Linked DNA regions of Homo sapiens: all the other regions are linked to region 3. The links are contacts of gene promoters, found by promoter capture Hi-C in human tissues and cell types (Jung and others, 2019). All regions are on one chromosome and are shown on one strand. The core of a region is centred on a gene start or on the middle of the fragment in contact, and the rest is flanking DNA. Distances in the headings are between cores, read along the strand shown. Region 1 overlaps CENPS-CORT (CENPS-CORT readthrough). Region 2 overlaps PEX14 (peroxisomal biogenesis factor 14). Region 3 holds the start of CASZ1 (castor zinc finger 1).

The links. Contacts are between HindIII fragments. The study calls those that stand out against the background at their distance.
Region 1: a contact is called between a fragment that was not itself captured here and the fragment with the promoter of CASZ1 in region 3, in 1 of the 25 tissues and cell types used here (pancreas).
Region 2: a fragment that was not itself captured here is called in contact with the fragment with the promoter of CASZ1 in region 3 in 5 of the 25 tissues and cell types used here (aorta, dorsolateral prefrontal cortex, mesenchymal stem cells and 2 more).

Annotation. Positions count from the first base shown.
Region 1 is chr1:10,450,997-10,454,416 of GRCh38, forward strand. CENPS-CORT (CENPS-CORT readthrough) reads left to right here. Exons shown (of 4, transcript NM_199006.3): 4 at 381-1,157. The coding sequence ends at 405. It overlaps CORT (cortistatin), which reads left to right. Exons shown (of 2, transcript NM_001302.5): 2 at 381-1,002. The coding sequence ends at 599. Among named protein-coding and RNA genes, the nearest start is that of CORT, 2.7 kb to the left of the region's middle. The HindIII fragment of the contact is 5,212 bases long and covers 1-3,420 here.
Region 2 is chr1:10,489,082-10,492,669 of GRCh38, forward strand. All of the region lies in intron 1 of PEX14 (peroxisomal biogenesis factor 14), which reads left to right. Among named protein-coding and RNA genes, the nearest start is that of PEX14, 16 kb to the left of the region's middle. The HindIII fragment of the contact is 3,285 bases long and covers 693-3,588 here.
Region 3 is chr1:10,795,056-10,798,970 of GRCh38, forward strand. CASZ1 (castor zinc finger 1) reads right to left here and starts at 1,591. Exons shown (of 21, transcript NM_001079843.3): 1 at 1,509-1,591. The HindIII fragment of the contact is 29,932 bases long and covers 1-3,915 here.

The sequences.
Region 1 (3,420 bases), core at 781-3,280, 340 kb before region 3:
ATCCAACTCCGGGCTTCTCAGCTGCCAGTCACTGAGGGGAAAATGGCAGATTTCCCGACCTCTCCTAATTAAGGACCTTAGCAGAGTATGGAGCAAAACCAGGTTTCTTCCCTTGACTTAAAATGACCAACTTTTCTCTAATTAAAGCAATTTCTTTAAGGTATTCTCTTCACTTTCTCATCCTCATCCGTTAAATGGAAATGAGGCTTATCGCTATGGAGCATCTTTTCATTTTAATATTTTCTTTCTCTTTTCTCCAGGGTAGTCTTTTAGATCATTTTTTTTTTTAAGTAAGGAGGAGATTGCATATCTTTGAATGCTTGCTGCCTGAGCCAGATTGCTGAGTTTTCTTTCCTTTGCCATCTGCTTCTCTTTAAAAGCATATGCAGGAAGCGGCAGGAATAAGGAAAAGCAGCCTCCTGACTTTCCTCGCTTGGTGGTTTGAGTGGACCTCCCAGGCCAGTGCCGGGCCCCTCATAGGAGAGGAAGCCCGGGAGGTGGCCAGGCGGCAGGAAGGCGCACCCCCCCAGCAATCTGCGCGCCGGGACAGAATGCCCTGCAGGAACTTCTTCTGGAAGACCTTCTCCTCCTGCAAATAAAACCTCACCCATGAATGCTCACGCAAGTGTAATGACAGACCTGAATAAAATGTATTAAGCAGCAGTGATCTTTCCTCTCCTCCTTCCCAAGTCATTTGAAAAGTGTTTGTTATTTAAATTCCAATAATGCCCAATACTGACGTGTCTTGAGTAATTTGGAACCCAAAGTGAAGATCTTTGATAAAGATTTTTTTGTGGTTCGACTGGACTGTGCTGAGTGCGGGCACTGGGCTTTTCTTCTGATGTTCATTATGGTGCTGGGAAGCTCTGTCTTTGATTTAAAATAAAATAGCTAAAGGCTACACAATTAAGAGTTCAGAATAACATCTTATTTCAGTTTATGAATTGATATGAATTGTCTAATTTAAAAAATATTTCCCTCACATTAAAAGCAAATTTTTAATATCAGGCTCGAAGAGCAAAATGATTATTCCTCATGTTTTAGCTGAAATTAATTTTAAAACATATTAAACAGAAAACCTGCTGACATGCCTGTGAAACTGATACTCGAACTTGCTGTTATGTACCAGTTTTAATTAGTAGCTTAATGGGTTGCAATTCTTTTCATGGATTATAGCTTCAGATTTGCTTTGGGAGGAATGAAGGCTACCCACAGAATTTTTTTTTTTTTGAGACGGAGTCTAGCTGTCACCCAGGCTGGAGTGCTATGGCGCGGTCTCAGCTCACTGCAACTTCCGCCTCCCAGGTTCATGTGATTCTCCTGCCTCAGCCTCCTGAGTAGCTGGGACTACAGCATGCGCTTCCATGCCTGGCTAATTTTTTTTTTTTTTTTTTTAGATGGAGTTTCGCTTTTGTTGCCCAGGCTGGAGTGCTATGGCACGGTCTCAGCTCACTGTGGCTTCCGCCTCCGAGGTTCAAGTGACTCTCCTGCCTCAGCCTCCCAAGTAGCTGGGACTACAGGCACACACCACCACGCCTGGCTAATTTTTGTATTTTTAGTAGAGACGGGGTTTCTCCATGTTGGTCAGGCTGGTCTCGAACTCCTGGCTTCAGGTGATCCACCTGCCTTGGCCTCAGAAAGTGCTGGGATTACCAGCGTGAGCCACTGCGCCTGGCCATGAAGGTTTTTCGATGCTAAACTTCATTGGGAAAACCAGCAAAGGCTGGCTGGAGGACACGGGAATATTCTCTTCTCTGGACACCAGGGGAGCGGACTCCCTGAGAATGGCTGCTGACCGTCCGTTGTTTTCTGCCGAGCTGAGCTCATATTCATAATTACTAGCTGAATAAAGTATAATGTGATGGAAGAGACTTAATAGCATCCACGTTTCCAAACACAGCAGCTTTAGGAGACCAGGAATTGGGTCAGTGCACTGGTGGAAGATGCCTGCCTGAAAGGCCAGCTAACCTTCCAGAACTTTGTTTTTTTTAAAGATTTTTTCTAGAAAGAAGCCATGCTTATTGTTTTTCAGTTTTTAAATTGGGGTCGGCAGGGCGCGGTGGCTCATGCCTGTAATCCCAGCACTGTGGGAGGTTGAGGCAGGCAGATCACTTGAGGCCAGGAGTTCGAGACCAGCCTGGCCAACATGATGAAACCCTGTCTCGACTAAAAATACAAAAATTACCCAGGCGTGATGGTGCACCCCTGTAATCCCAGCTACTTGGGAGGCTGAGGCACGAGAATCACTTGAGCCTGGGAGGCGGAAGTTGTAGTGAGCCGAGGTCATGCCACTGTACTCCAGCCTGGGTGACAGAACGAGACTCTGTCTCAAAAATAATAGTAAAATAAGATAAAATAGGGGCTGGGCGTGGTGGCTCACACCTGTAATCCCAGCACCTTGGGAGGCCGAGCTGGGTGGATCACCTGAGGTCGGGTGTTCAAGACCAGCCTGATCAACGTGGTGAAACCCTGTCTCTACTAAAAACACCAAAAATTAGCCGGGCTTGGTGGCACATACCTGTAATCCCAGCTACTCAGGAGGCTGAGGCAGGAGAATCACCTTAACCCGGGAGGCAGAGATTGCAGTGAGCCAAGATTGTGCCACTGCACTCCAGCCTGGGCGACAGAGTGAGACTCCGTCTCAAAAAATAAAATACATTGGGGTCATCCACACAGACTTTAAGATTGGGGATTTTACCTTTTAACTAAGTAGTTATCTGTAGGATAATGAGGCTCTACTAGTGCTACTGCCAGGAAATTCAAGTCTAAGCCTACCTTAGTTCAGGGGACTTCATACGACATTAACTGGCATCAGCTGCATGTTAGACCAGATGAATATGCTTGTGATTAATAAATCAGGGTAAAATGGTCATTTCCCACCATCTGGTTTTTGGTGGCCTTTTCTGTAGTTCAGTAGAGTCAGGTGTGTAGATCTGGGTAATCAGGCCCTGGGCAACTTCAAGTTCATGCTCTTGTTATTTTGTCCAGGATTTGGCACCAGAACAGCTCCCTAACTGCTGAGGAGGAATGAAGGACAACAGACACTCACAGCTTTCCTATTTCAGGGCTGGCAGCAAAGGATTCCAGGCTTTAGGAAACTCCTCAGACTGGGAAGCTCAGGGGAGATACTTACCTTGATGTAAGCAGCACCTGTTGAAGGGCAGCCCGTCTTTTTTTTTTTTTTTTTTTTTTTGAGACAGAGTCTCCCTCTGCCACCCAGGCTGGAGTGCAGTGAAGTGATCTTGGCTCACTGTAAGCTCCACCTCCCGGGCTCAGGTCATTCTTCTGTCTCAGCCTCCCGAGTAGCTGGGACTACAGGCACCCGCCACCACACCCAGCTAATTTTTTCTATTTTTTTGTAGAGATGGGGTTTCACCGTGTTAGCCAGGATGGTCTCGATCTCCTGACCTTGTGATCCAC
Region 2 (3,588 bases), core at 1,085-3,584, 310 kb before region 3:
GTGATTCTCCTACCTCAGCCTCCCAAGTAGCTGGGATTACAGGCATGCACCACCACACCCGGCTAATTTTTGTATTCTTAGTAGAGACGGGGTTTCTCCATGTTGGTCAGGCTAGTCTCGAACTCGTGACCTCAGGTGATCCGCCCGCCTCAGCCTCCCAAAGTGCTGGGATTACAGGCGTGAGCTACCGTGCCTGGCCATGTGTTGAAATTTTTTATTGGATGCTGGATATTGTGAGTTCAGTATTGTTGAGGTTATGGATTTTGTGGTCTTTAAAGAGTGCTTAAAGCTTTTTTCTTCTGTGCAGTTTTTTATGGTTTACTGTTATCATTTTGAGTCCTGTTTTTTAGCTTTGTTAGAGTGGATCTGGATAATCTTTAATCTAGGGATCATTTGACCTCTGGTCTCTCCTGAATGCCCTGTGAGGACACTCCAGTCTGGCTGCTTGGGACTCATGATTCCCCTGAGAGTTCTAAGAAATGTCAGCTCCTAGCTTCTTCTTCACTGTGGAGTTTCACCCTATGCATGCACAAATTTTAGTATTCAGCAGAGACCTGAGGGAACCTCCAGACAGATTTCTGGACCACTTTTTCTGCATAGCTCTTTCTTTCTGAAGTCTGTCCTGCAGCTTTCAGCTGCCTTGGCCTCCCTGAACTCTGATCTCTGTCTCTTCAACTTAAGTGGGTGGCGTGCTCTGCTGGGGATCCCCGTCTCTCTCCAGGGCCTGAAATGTGTCTCCTGGCAGGAAGCCAGAGTGATTTTAGGGCCCAAGTAATTTGTTTCTCTGCTTTCAGGGATCGTAGTCCTGCACTGCCTGCTGTCCAATGTGTACACACAGTGGTTTTATTTATTTGGCTTAGTTTTCTAGTTGTTTACAGTGGGAGGGCAAATCTGTTCCCTATCACTCCATCATGACCCGAAGTGGAAGTGCATTGGTTGACTTTGAGCAGAGGAGTGACATGAAATAACTTATCATCTCCTCTAATCCCAAATGTGAGGTGGTGGTATTATTCCCGTTATTCCCATAGATGAGGAAACTGAGGCTCAGAGAGGTTGAGCAGCGTGCCCCCAAATCACTGAGTTCTTAATGCCAAAGCTTGTGTACTTTCTGTCATGCCACTGCATCTCAAAGGATATTGGTGGGATCGAATCTTATTCTTCCCAGCAGAGAACTACACAGACTGGCTTAGGACCTATCTGGAGTCACAGTCACCGGGCAGATGCAGGATGGGTTCTCCTATCTGAAGTCGCAGTTACTGGGCAGATGCAGGATGGGTTCTCCTAGACCTGGAGCTTTCGCCAGTTGCTCAAATCTGTGAGCTGCTTGTGAGGTTGTTCTTTGTTGGACAGCAGGTCAGGATCTGGGAACGCCTTCCAGTTGGGGAAGGTCAGCGCCTTGGCAGCAGGAGTGAGAGCACCTTTGTCTCTACCAAAAGAAAAGCATTTCTCTCTCTGCCGCCGTAGTCTTTGCCTGACTTGTTTTTTTAAAGCAGTTTTCTGCTTTTGCTTTCTTCTCTTCCTGCTCTCCCCATTCAGGCCTCTAAGGATCCTGGGCATGGATTGCCTTAGGTCCTTTTCTTACATCGTTACAATAGATGCCTGTGGGTGGTTTCTAAGCCTTTTTTTTTTTTTTTTTTTCTGAGACAGTCTTACTCTGTTACCCAGGCTGGAGTGCAGTGATGTGATCACAGCTCACCACAGCCTCAACCTCCTGGGCTCAGTTGATCCTCCCACTTCAACCTCCTGGGTAGTTGGGACTTACAGGCATGTGCCACCATGCGTGGCAAATTTTTGTATTTTTTAGTAGAGACAGGGTTTTACCATGTTGCTCAGGCTGGTCTCGAACTCCTGGGCCCAAGCGATCCTCCCACATCGGCCTCCCAAAGTGCTGGTGTGAACCACCATGCCCGGCCTTGTTTTTTTTTTTTTTTTAATCATGGACTACTCTGTGAAGATTTCCAGGATCAGTTGGAGATGAGGTTTTGCTATGTTGGCCAGGCTGGTCTTGAACTCCTGACCAGGTGATCTGCCTGCCTCGACCTCCCAAAATGCTGGGATTACAGGCGTGAGCTACTGTGCCCGGCCTGCTTCGATTGTTTAAACAGCTAGCATGGTGGAAGATTTTAAAAAAATGTTCACAGGGTAGGCCATGATTAAAAAAATAAAAAAAAGGCCAGGTGTGGTGGCTCACATTTGTATTCCCAGCTTCATACTGGGACTGTGGCTCTGGGAAGCCATGACTTGAGGAATTTGGAGTGTTGCTGTTTCAAATTCCATGGTAGGAATATGCATACACATGCACCCTTTTTTTCTTTTTGAGACAGAGTCTTGCTCTGTTGACCAAGCTGGAATACAATGGCACCATCATAGCTCACTGCAATCTCTGCCTCCTGGGATCAAGCGAGCCTCCTGAGTAGCTGGGACTATAGGATGCACCACCACACCCGGCTAATTTTTAAATTTTTTGTAGAGATGGGGTCTCGCTGTGTTGCCCAGGCTGGTCTCAAACTCCTGGCCTTAAGGGATCCTCCCATTGTACCCTCCCAGAGTGCTGTGCTGGGTTTAAGGTGTAAGCCACACTTGGCCATGCTCCTTTTTTTTTTTTTTTTTTTTTTTGGAGACAGAGTCTCACTCTGTCACCTAGATTGGAGTGCAGTGGCATGATCTCAGCTCACTGTAACCTCCGCCTCCCGGGTTCAAGCGATTATTGTGCCTCTGCCTCCCGAGTAGCTGGGACTACAGGCATGCACCACCACACCCAGCTTATTTTTGCATTTTTTTTGTAGAGACGGGGTTTCGCCATGTTGGCCAGGCTCATCTCTAACTCCCGGCCTCAAGTGATTCGCTCACCTTGGCCTCCTGAAGTGCTGGGATTACAGGCATGAGCCACTGCACCCGGCCGGCCATGCTTCTTATATGCTTTGAATATCCTTGGCAGAATATATAAGGAACCAGCGTCAGTGTGGGTCCCCTAGGGTTGGAATGAGAGGGAAGCTTTCTTTTTTACTTTTAATATTGAATTTTCTAAAACAATTCATTTACATGGCTTATAATTTAAAAGGTACTAAAGGGTTTATGATGAAAGAGACTTATTTGGCACTGTGTACTGTTTGAAGTTTTTCCCTCTGGTAAATACTAGCTATTCAAGGGATGAACTAATTTTAAGAGCAGTTCCTTGGTGGAAACAATTCATAGTGATTAGTTTTATTTTAGGAAGAAAGTTTTGGGTTAAGTCAGAATGGGGCTTCCTAAATACTAAAGCTGTTTGCTTTTGTGTGTTTTGTCTGGTCAAATAACCTACATTATTATTTATGGGGTAGCATTAAGGTTGTTGCTTAATAAAATGTGGTTTAAACAAAACTTGCTTATTTTGATTAAGTAGAAGGGTTCAAATCCCTGTAGTACCAGTTACTATCTGAGTAATCATGGGCAAGTTATTTAACCTCTTTTGCCTCAGTTTCCTCATCAGCAGTAATTTGATATACTTATTGTGAGAATTAAAGGAGGAAAGAGCTAAGTGAATGTTAGCACTTAGTATCTAGCAAATGGAGTAGAGGAAACCCTCAGGAAGATAATGAACGGAAGAAT
Region 3 (3,915 bases), core at 341-2,840:
TGGCGGCCGACGGCCATCAGCTGCACATTCTGCAAATGCCACCGAGTAAAAATAAACCGGCCGCCGCTCCGCCCGTCCGGCTCACCCCGGGCGCACGAATCGGCCCCCTGCCCCGGGAGATCCCTGACTCGGTCTGGCCCGATCCCCCATTCCCGCGCGCCCCCTGGATCCCCGCTCCCCGACGCTCCTCCGTCAGTCACCACGCTCTCCTTTGCCGTTAAGCCGGACCCTAAGTGACCGGGAAACCGGCTCTCTCCCTTTGGTGTTCCCTGCGCCCCCACAAACTACTTTTTTCTCTGTCCTTCACCAGGTGCCTATTTCAGCCCTGTGCCCTTGGATTCAGGGCTCCTCCTCCCCAATTGTTGAGCTCCGAGGTCACCCTCAGCCCACCCTGGGGGAACAGACCCCGACCGACCCTCTCCCACGCTGCAGAGCCCCCCCGGAGCGCACCACTCTACCAGCCCGCTAGCCCGCCAGCCCAGCGTCCCACGTCCCCGGGCGCAACTTCTCTTCTGGCGCACACAACAGCCGGCAACAACTCGCCCGAACTTTCCCCGGGACCCAGGCGGGCTCCAGCCGACAGCCGGGCAGCTCTGGGCCGATGCCCCGGCTCCCCGTGCCCTGTGTTGCCAGCCCTTCAGCTGGGGAGGCAGGGGGTGGGGTGGGGAAGGGAGTGAGGAACGCCACTTGCCGCGCCTGGAGCAGCGCACTTGAGATAAACTTCCCAGGCACAGATGAAAAAGGGGGCGCCGCTCCCCCCATCTAAGAAATCTCTTGCCTTCGATTTCCTATGGGGGATACCCTTTGGCACCCCGCGCCTAAGCGAACACTGCCTACCTCTGCTGGCAGCACCTACACCCGGTATCCGGGCACAAGAGCCGGCTGGAGGGGTTCCCCACCCACCCCTTCCCATGGGCAAAGTCTTGCAAAGTCACCCCAGGCACCCCTCACCCCGCCTCCTTCTCTGCCCTGGAGAGCGCACGACCCCTCTGCTGCTGGGGGGTGGGGTGGGGTGGGGGTTTAAGGGGAAGGAGTGATTACCCGGTATTGGAGATCACCTGCCCCCCCGGGAGCCCACAGCGCGTGGGGCGCCCCCACCCTATTTGCAAAGTCCTGTGCTCGCGCCTGGCACCTCCCTCTCTTCTCCCCTACCCCGCCACCCCCTCAGTTGGAGTAAGCGACCCCCAGGAGGAGCAGCCCTCCCCTCCCCCGGAGCCGCGCGCCGGGCATTCCCCTGGCCACGGCAGGCAACGCGCCGCCCCGCGCCCGGGTGCCAGCCCTCCGTGCCCCCTGCCTCCGCACGGCCGGAGTTGGGTGGCAGCCGCCGATCGCAGGCTGGCTGGCTGGCTCGCTCGCTCGCTCGCTCGCCCGCTCCCTGCTGCAAGCGGCAGCCCCGGGGGTGGGGGGGGTGCACCGGGACAGGGGGAGAGACGGGGAGGCGCCCCGGGAGGCCCGCGGAGCTGGGGGACGTGGGGGGGCCGCGGCGGAGGGAGCGCCGAGTCTCTTACCTGCACTTGGGGCGGCTTTGGGTGACTTTCCAAGTCCGGGGGAAAAATGTGTGTGTGTTTGGGATGGAGCGCCGCGGGCGCGCATGCGCTGCCCAAAGTTGCCGGATCCCGGATTTTTCGCTCCCAGTCTCCGCTCTCGCCCGCTGTGATTATGGAATTCTCCGCGGCCGGGCGGGCGAGTGGGTGGCATGCAAAACCCGGGCCGGATCGCGGGGCCGGGCTCCGCTCCACCCTCACACCCCCAGACCTGCCCCTCCCGGATCCTTCCCACCCACCGCCCGGGCTGAGCTCAGCGTGTGCGCGCGGCGAGTCGCACGGCCTGCGGAGGAGCATCTGAGCGCTCGGCCCCCTTTTGCAGGTCCAGAGGCTTCTACACCCCCCCCCAGCTGAGTTGAGTTGAGGCTAGGGGAAAAGAGAGAAGGGATGGGGGGGGGGGTTACTTTCCACCTGTTCTGAACCCCGAGAGAGCCCGAGTTCGGTTCCCACTTTCGACAGAAGAACTGGCTCTTTTTTGCAAGTTAGAATGTTAGAACTGTGGAACCCAAAGGAACGAAATGTTCTCACTGTTTGATATCTGCTTTGCACTTATTCTTTGCAAGGGAGTTTTTCATTCAATCTATTGTGCAAGAAATAAATCCTTAAGTGAGCAAGATAGGCCGTGCAGAATGAACCTTACATGGAGGGGCTGGGGGGGGGGCAGATAATACACATTAAAACAAGTGGATAATGTTATTTCAGAGAGTGAAAGTATCCATGAAGAAAATAAACCAAGGCAATAGGCTAAAAAGTGTCTTGGGGGCCGGCATGGTGGTTTACGCCTGTAATCCCAGCACTTTGGGAGGCCGAGGCAGGAGCATCGGTTGAGCCCAGGAGTTCGAGACCAGCTTGGGCAACATAGCTAGACCTCATTTCTGACAAAACAAAACAAAGCAGTGTCTTGCGAGAGATAATCCCCTTGCCCCCAGATGGGGGGGAAGGGCCTTTTGAGGGGCACTTTCATACTTTATTGAAGAAACCCCCTTTTCTCCCATACCCAGACTTCCCATTTCCCAGTTGGTTTGAGGTGGCCACACCAGCTGAGCCTAGTAGTCAGCTTCAGTGCTGAGGCCCTGTAGCTCTGGTCTTGCCTTTCTCAGCAAGCGCACCCCTCATTCCAGGCCTGAGCTGCTTTTCCCTTCAGCATAAGCGTGGGATGGAAATATCGAGAGGCATGAAAGAAACTGAAAACACCCAGATGATGAGATAAGTGAGAAACTGACCATAACAGTAAACGAAATAGATCAATGATTTGTGGAATAAATGAATATAAATTCAAAGTATGACCCACAGCTTCAAGCCCTGCTCAACAGAATGCATTAAACTAAGAGGCAATGCCACAGGCTGGTAAACATTGTTGCAGGCTGGTAGTATTTGGAGCCTAATCTGCAAGGTGTCAGGAAAGCCTCTCAGGACCAGAGAAACGACCCAAAACCCTGTATGATGATTGTCTAAGACAAGCATCTTCCGGGATGCATTCCCATGTCCTGCCTTAAACTGGAAGTTAATTGTCCAGAAGCATATGGACACAGACTGGAGACATGATGGCCCTCTGGCCCTGAGGAGGCCAGGATTTGCCCTGTGCCCTAATAAAGCCAACAAATTTGGGAGAGGAAGCTGAGCCATCCCACACTCCTTAGATACTCAGTGATATTTGCTTGTGTTAGATGGACTGGGGAAGAAACCAGCTCAAAAAACCAGCTCCTCACTTCCTGGAATAGTTCTGGGGGTCCATTCAGGATCTGTCCACACAGGAAAGCCAGATTTAGACATTAGACACATGTTTCGGGTTCATTTTGTTTTCCCCCCTCCTTATCCCAATAATTGACTGGAAGCAGCAACACAACGATAATTAACATCCCTCAAAGACCACTGATTGGTTACTCTCCATTGCCGCCCCCACCATCCAAGGCATTCTCAGCTCTCAGGGGTTGAGGGCTCACCCACCATCTCTAAGACCCTTGTGCCTGGTGACTTAGCAGGATGCACAGCCCCAGAGATCTCAAGCCCAATCTTGTCATCCTACAGAAGGAGAAACTGAGGCACAGTGAGGGGCAGTAACCTGAGAAGTGGCAAGGTAGCTCTTCTACCTTATTGGCTCACGGCTGAGTCCACTCCTGGGGCAGCGTAAAGAAGGGGTTAGCAGCTTGGGCTTGGGGGTGAGACCCTACCGCTCCACCAGCTGGGTGACCTTGAGGAAGGCATTTGACCCGTCTGTGCCTCAGTTGCCTCCACAGTAAAATGGGGATAATAATAGTACCTACTGCCTGGGATTGTTGAGAAGCTAAAATGAGTTAATGCAGGAAAAGGGCCTGGGCCAAGATATTGATCGATAAATGCCAGTAATTGTCATTGCTCCTTGGGACATCCA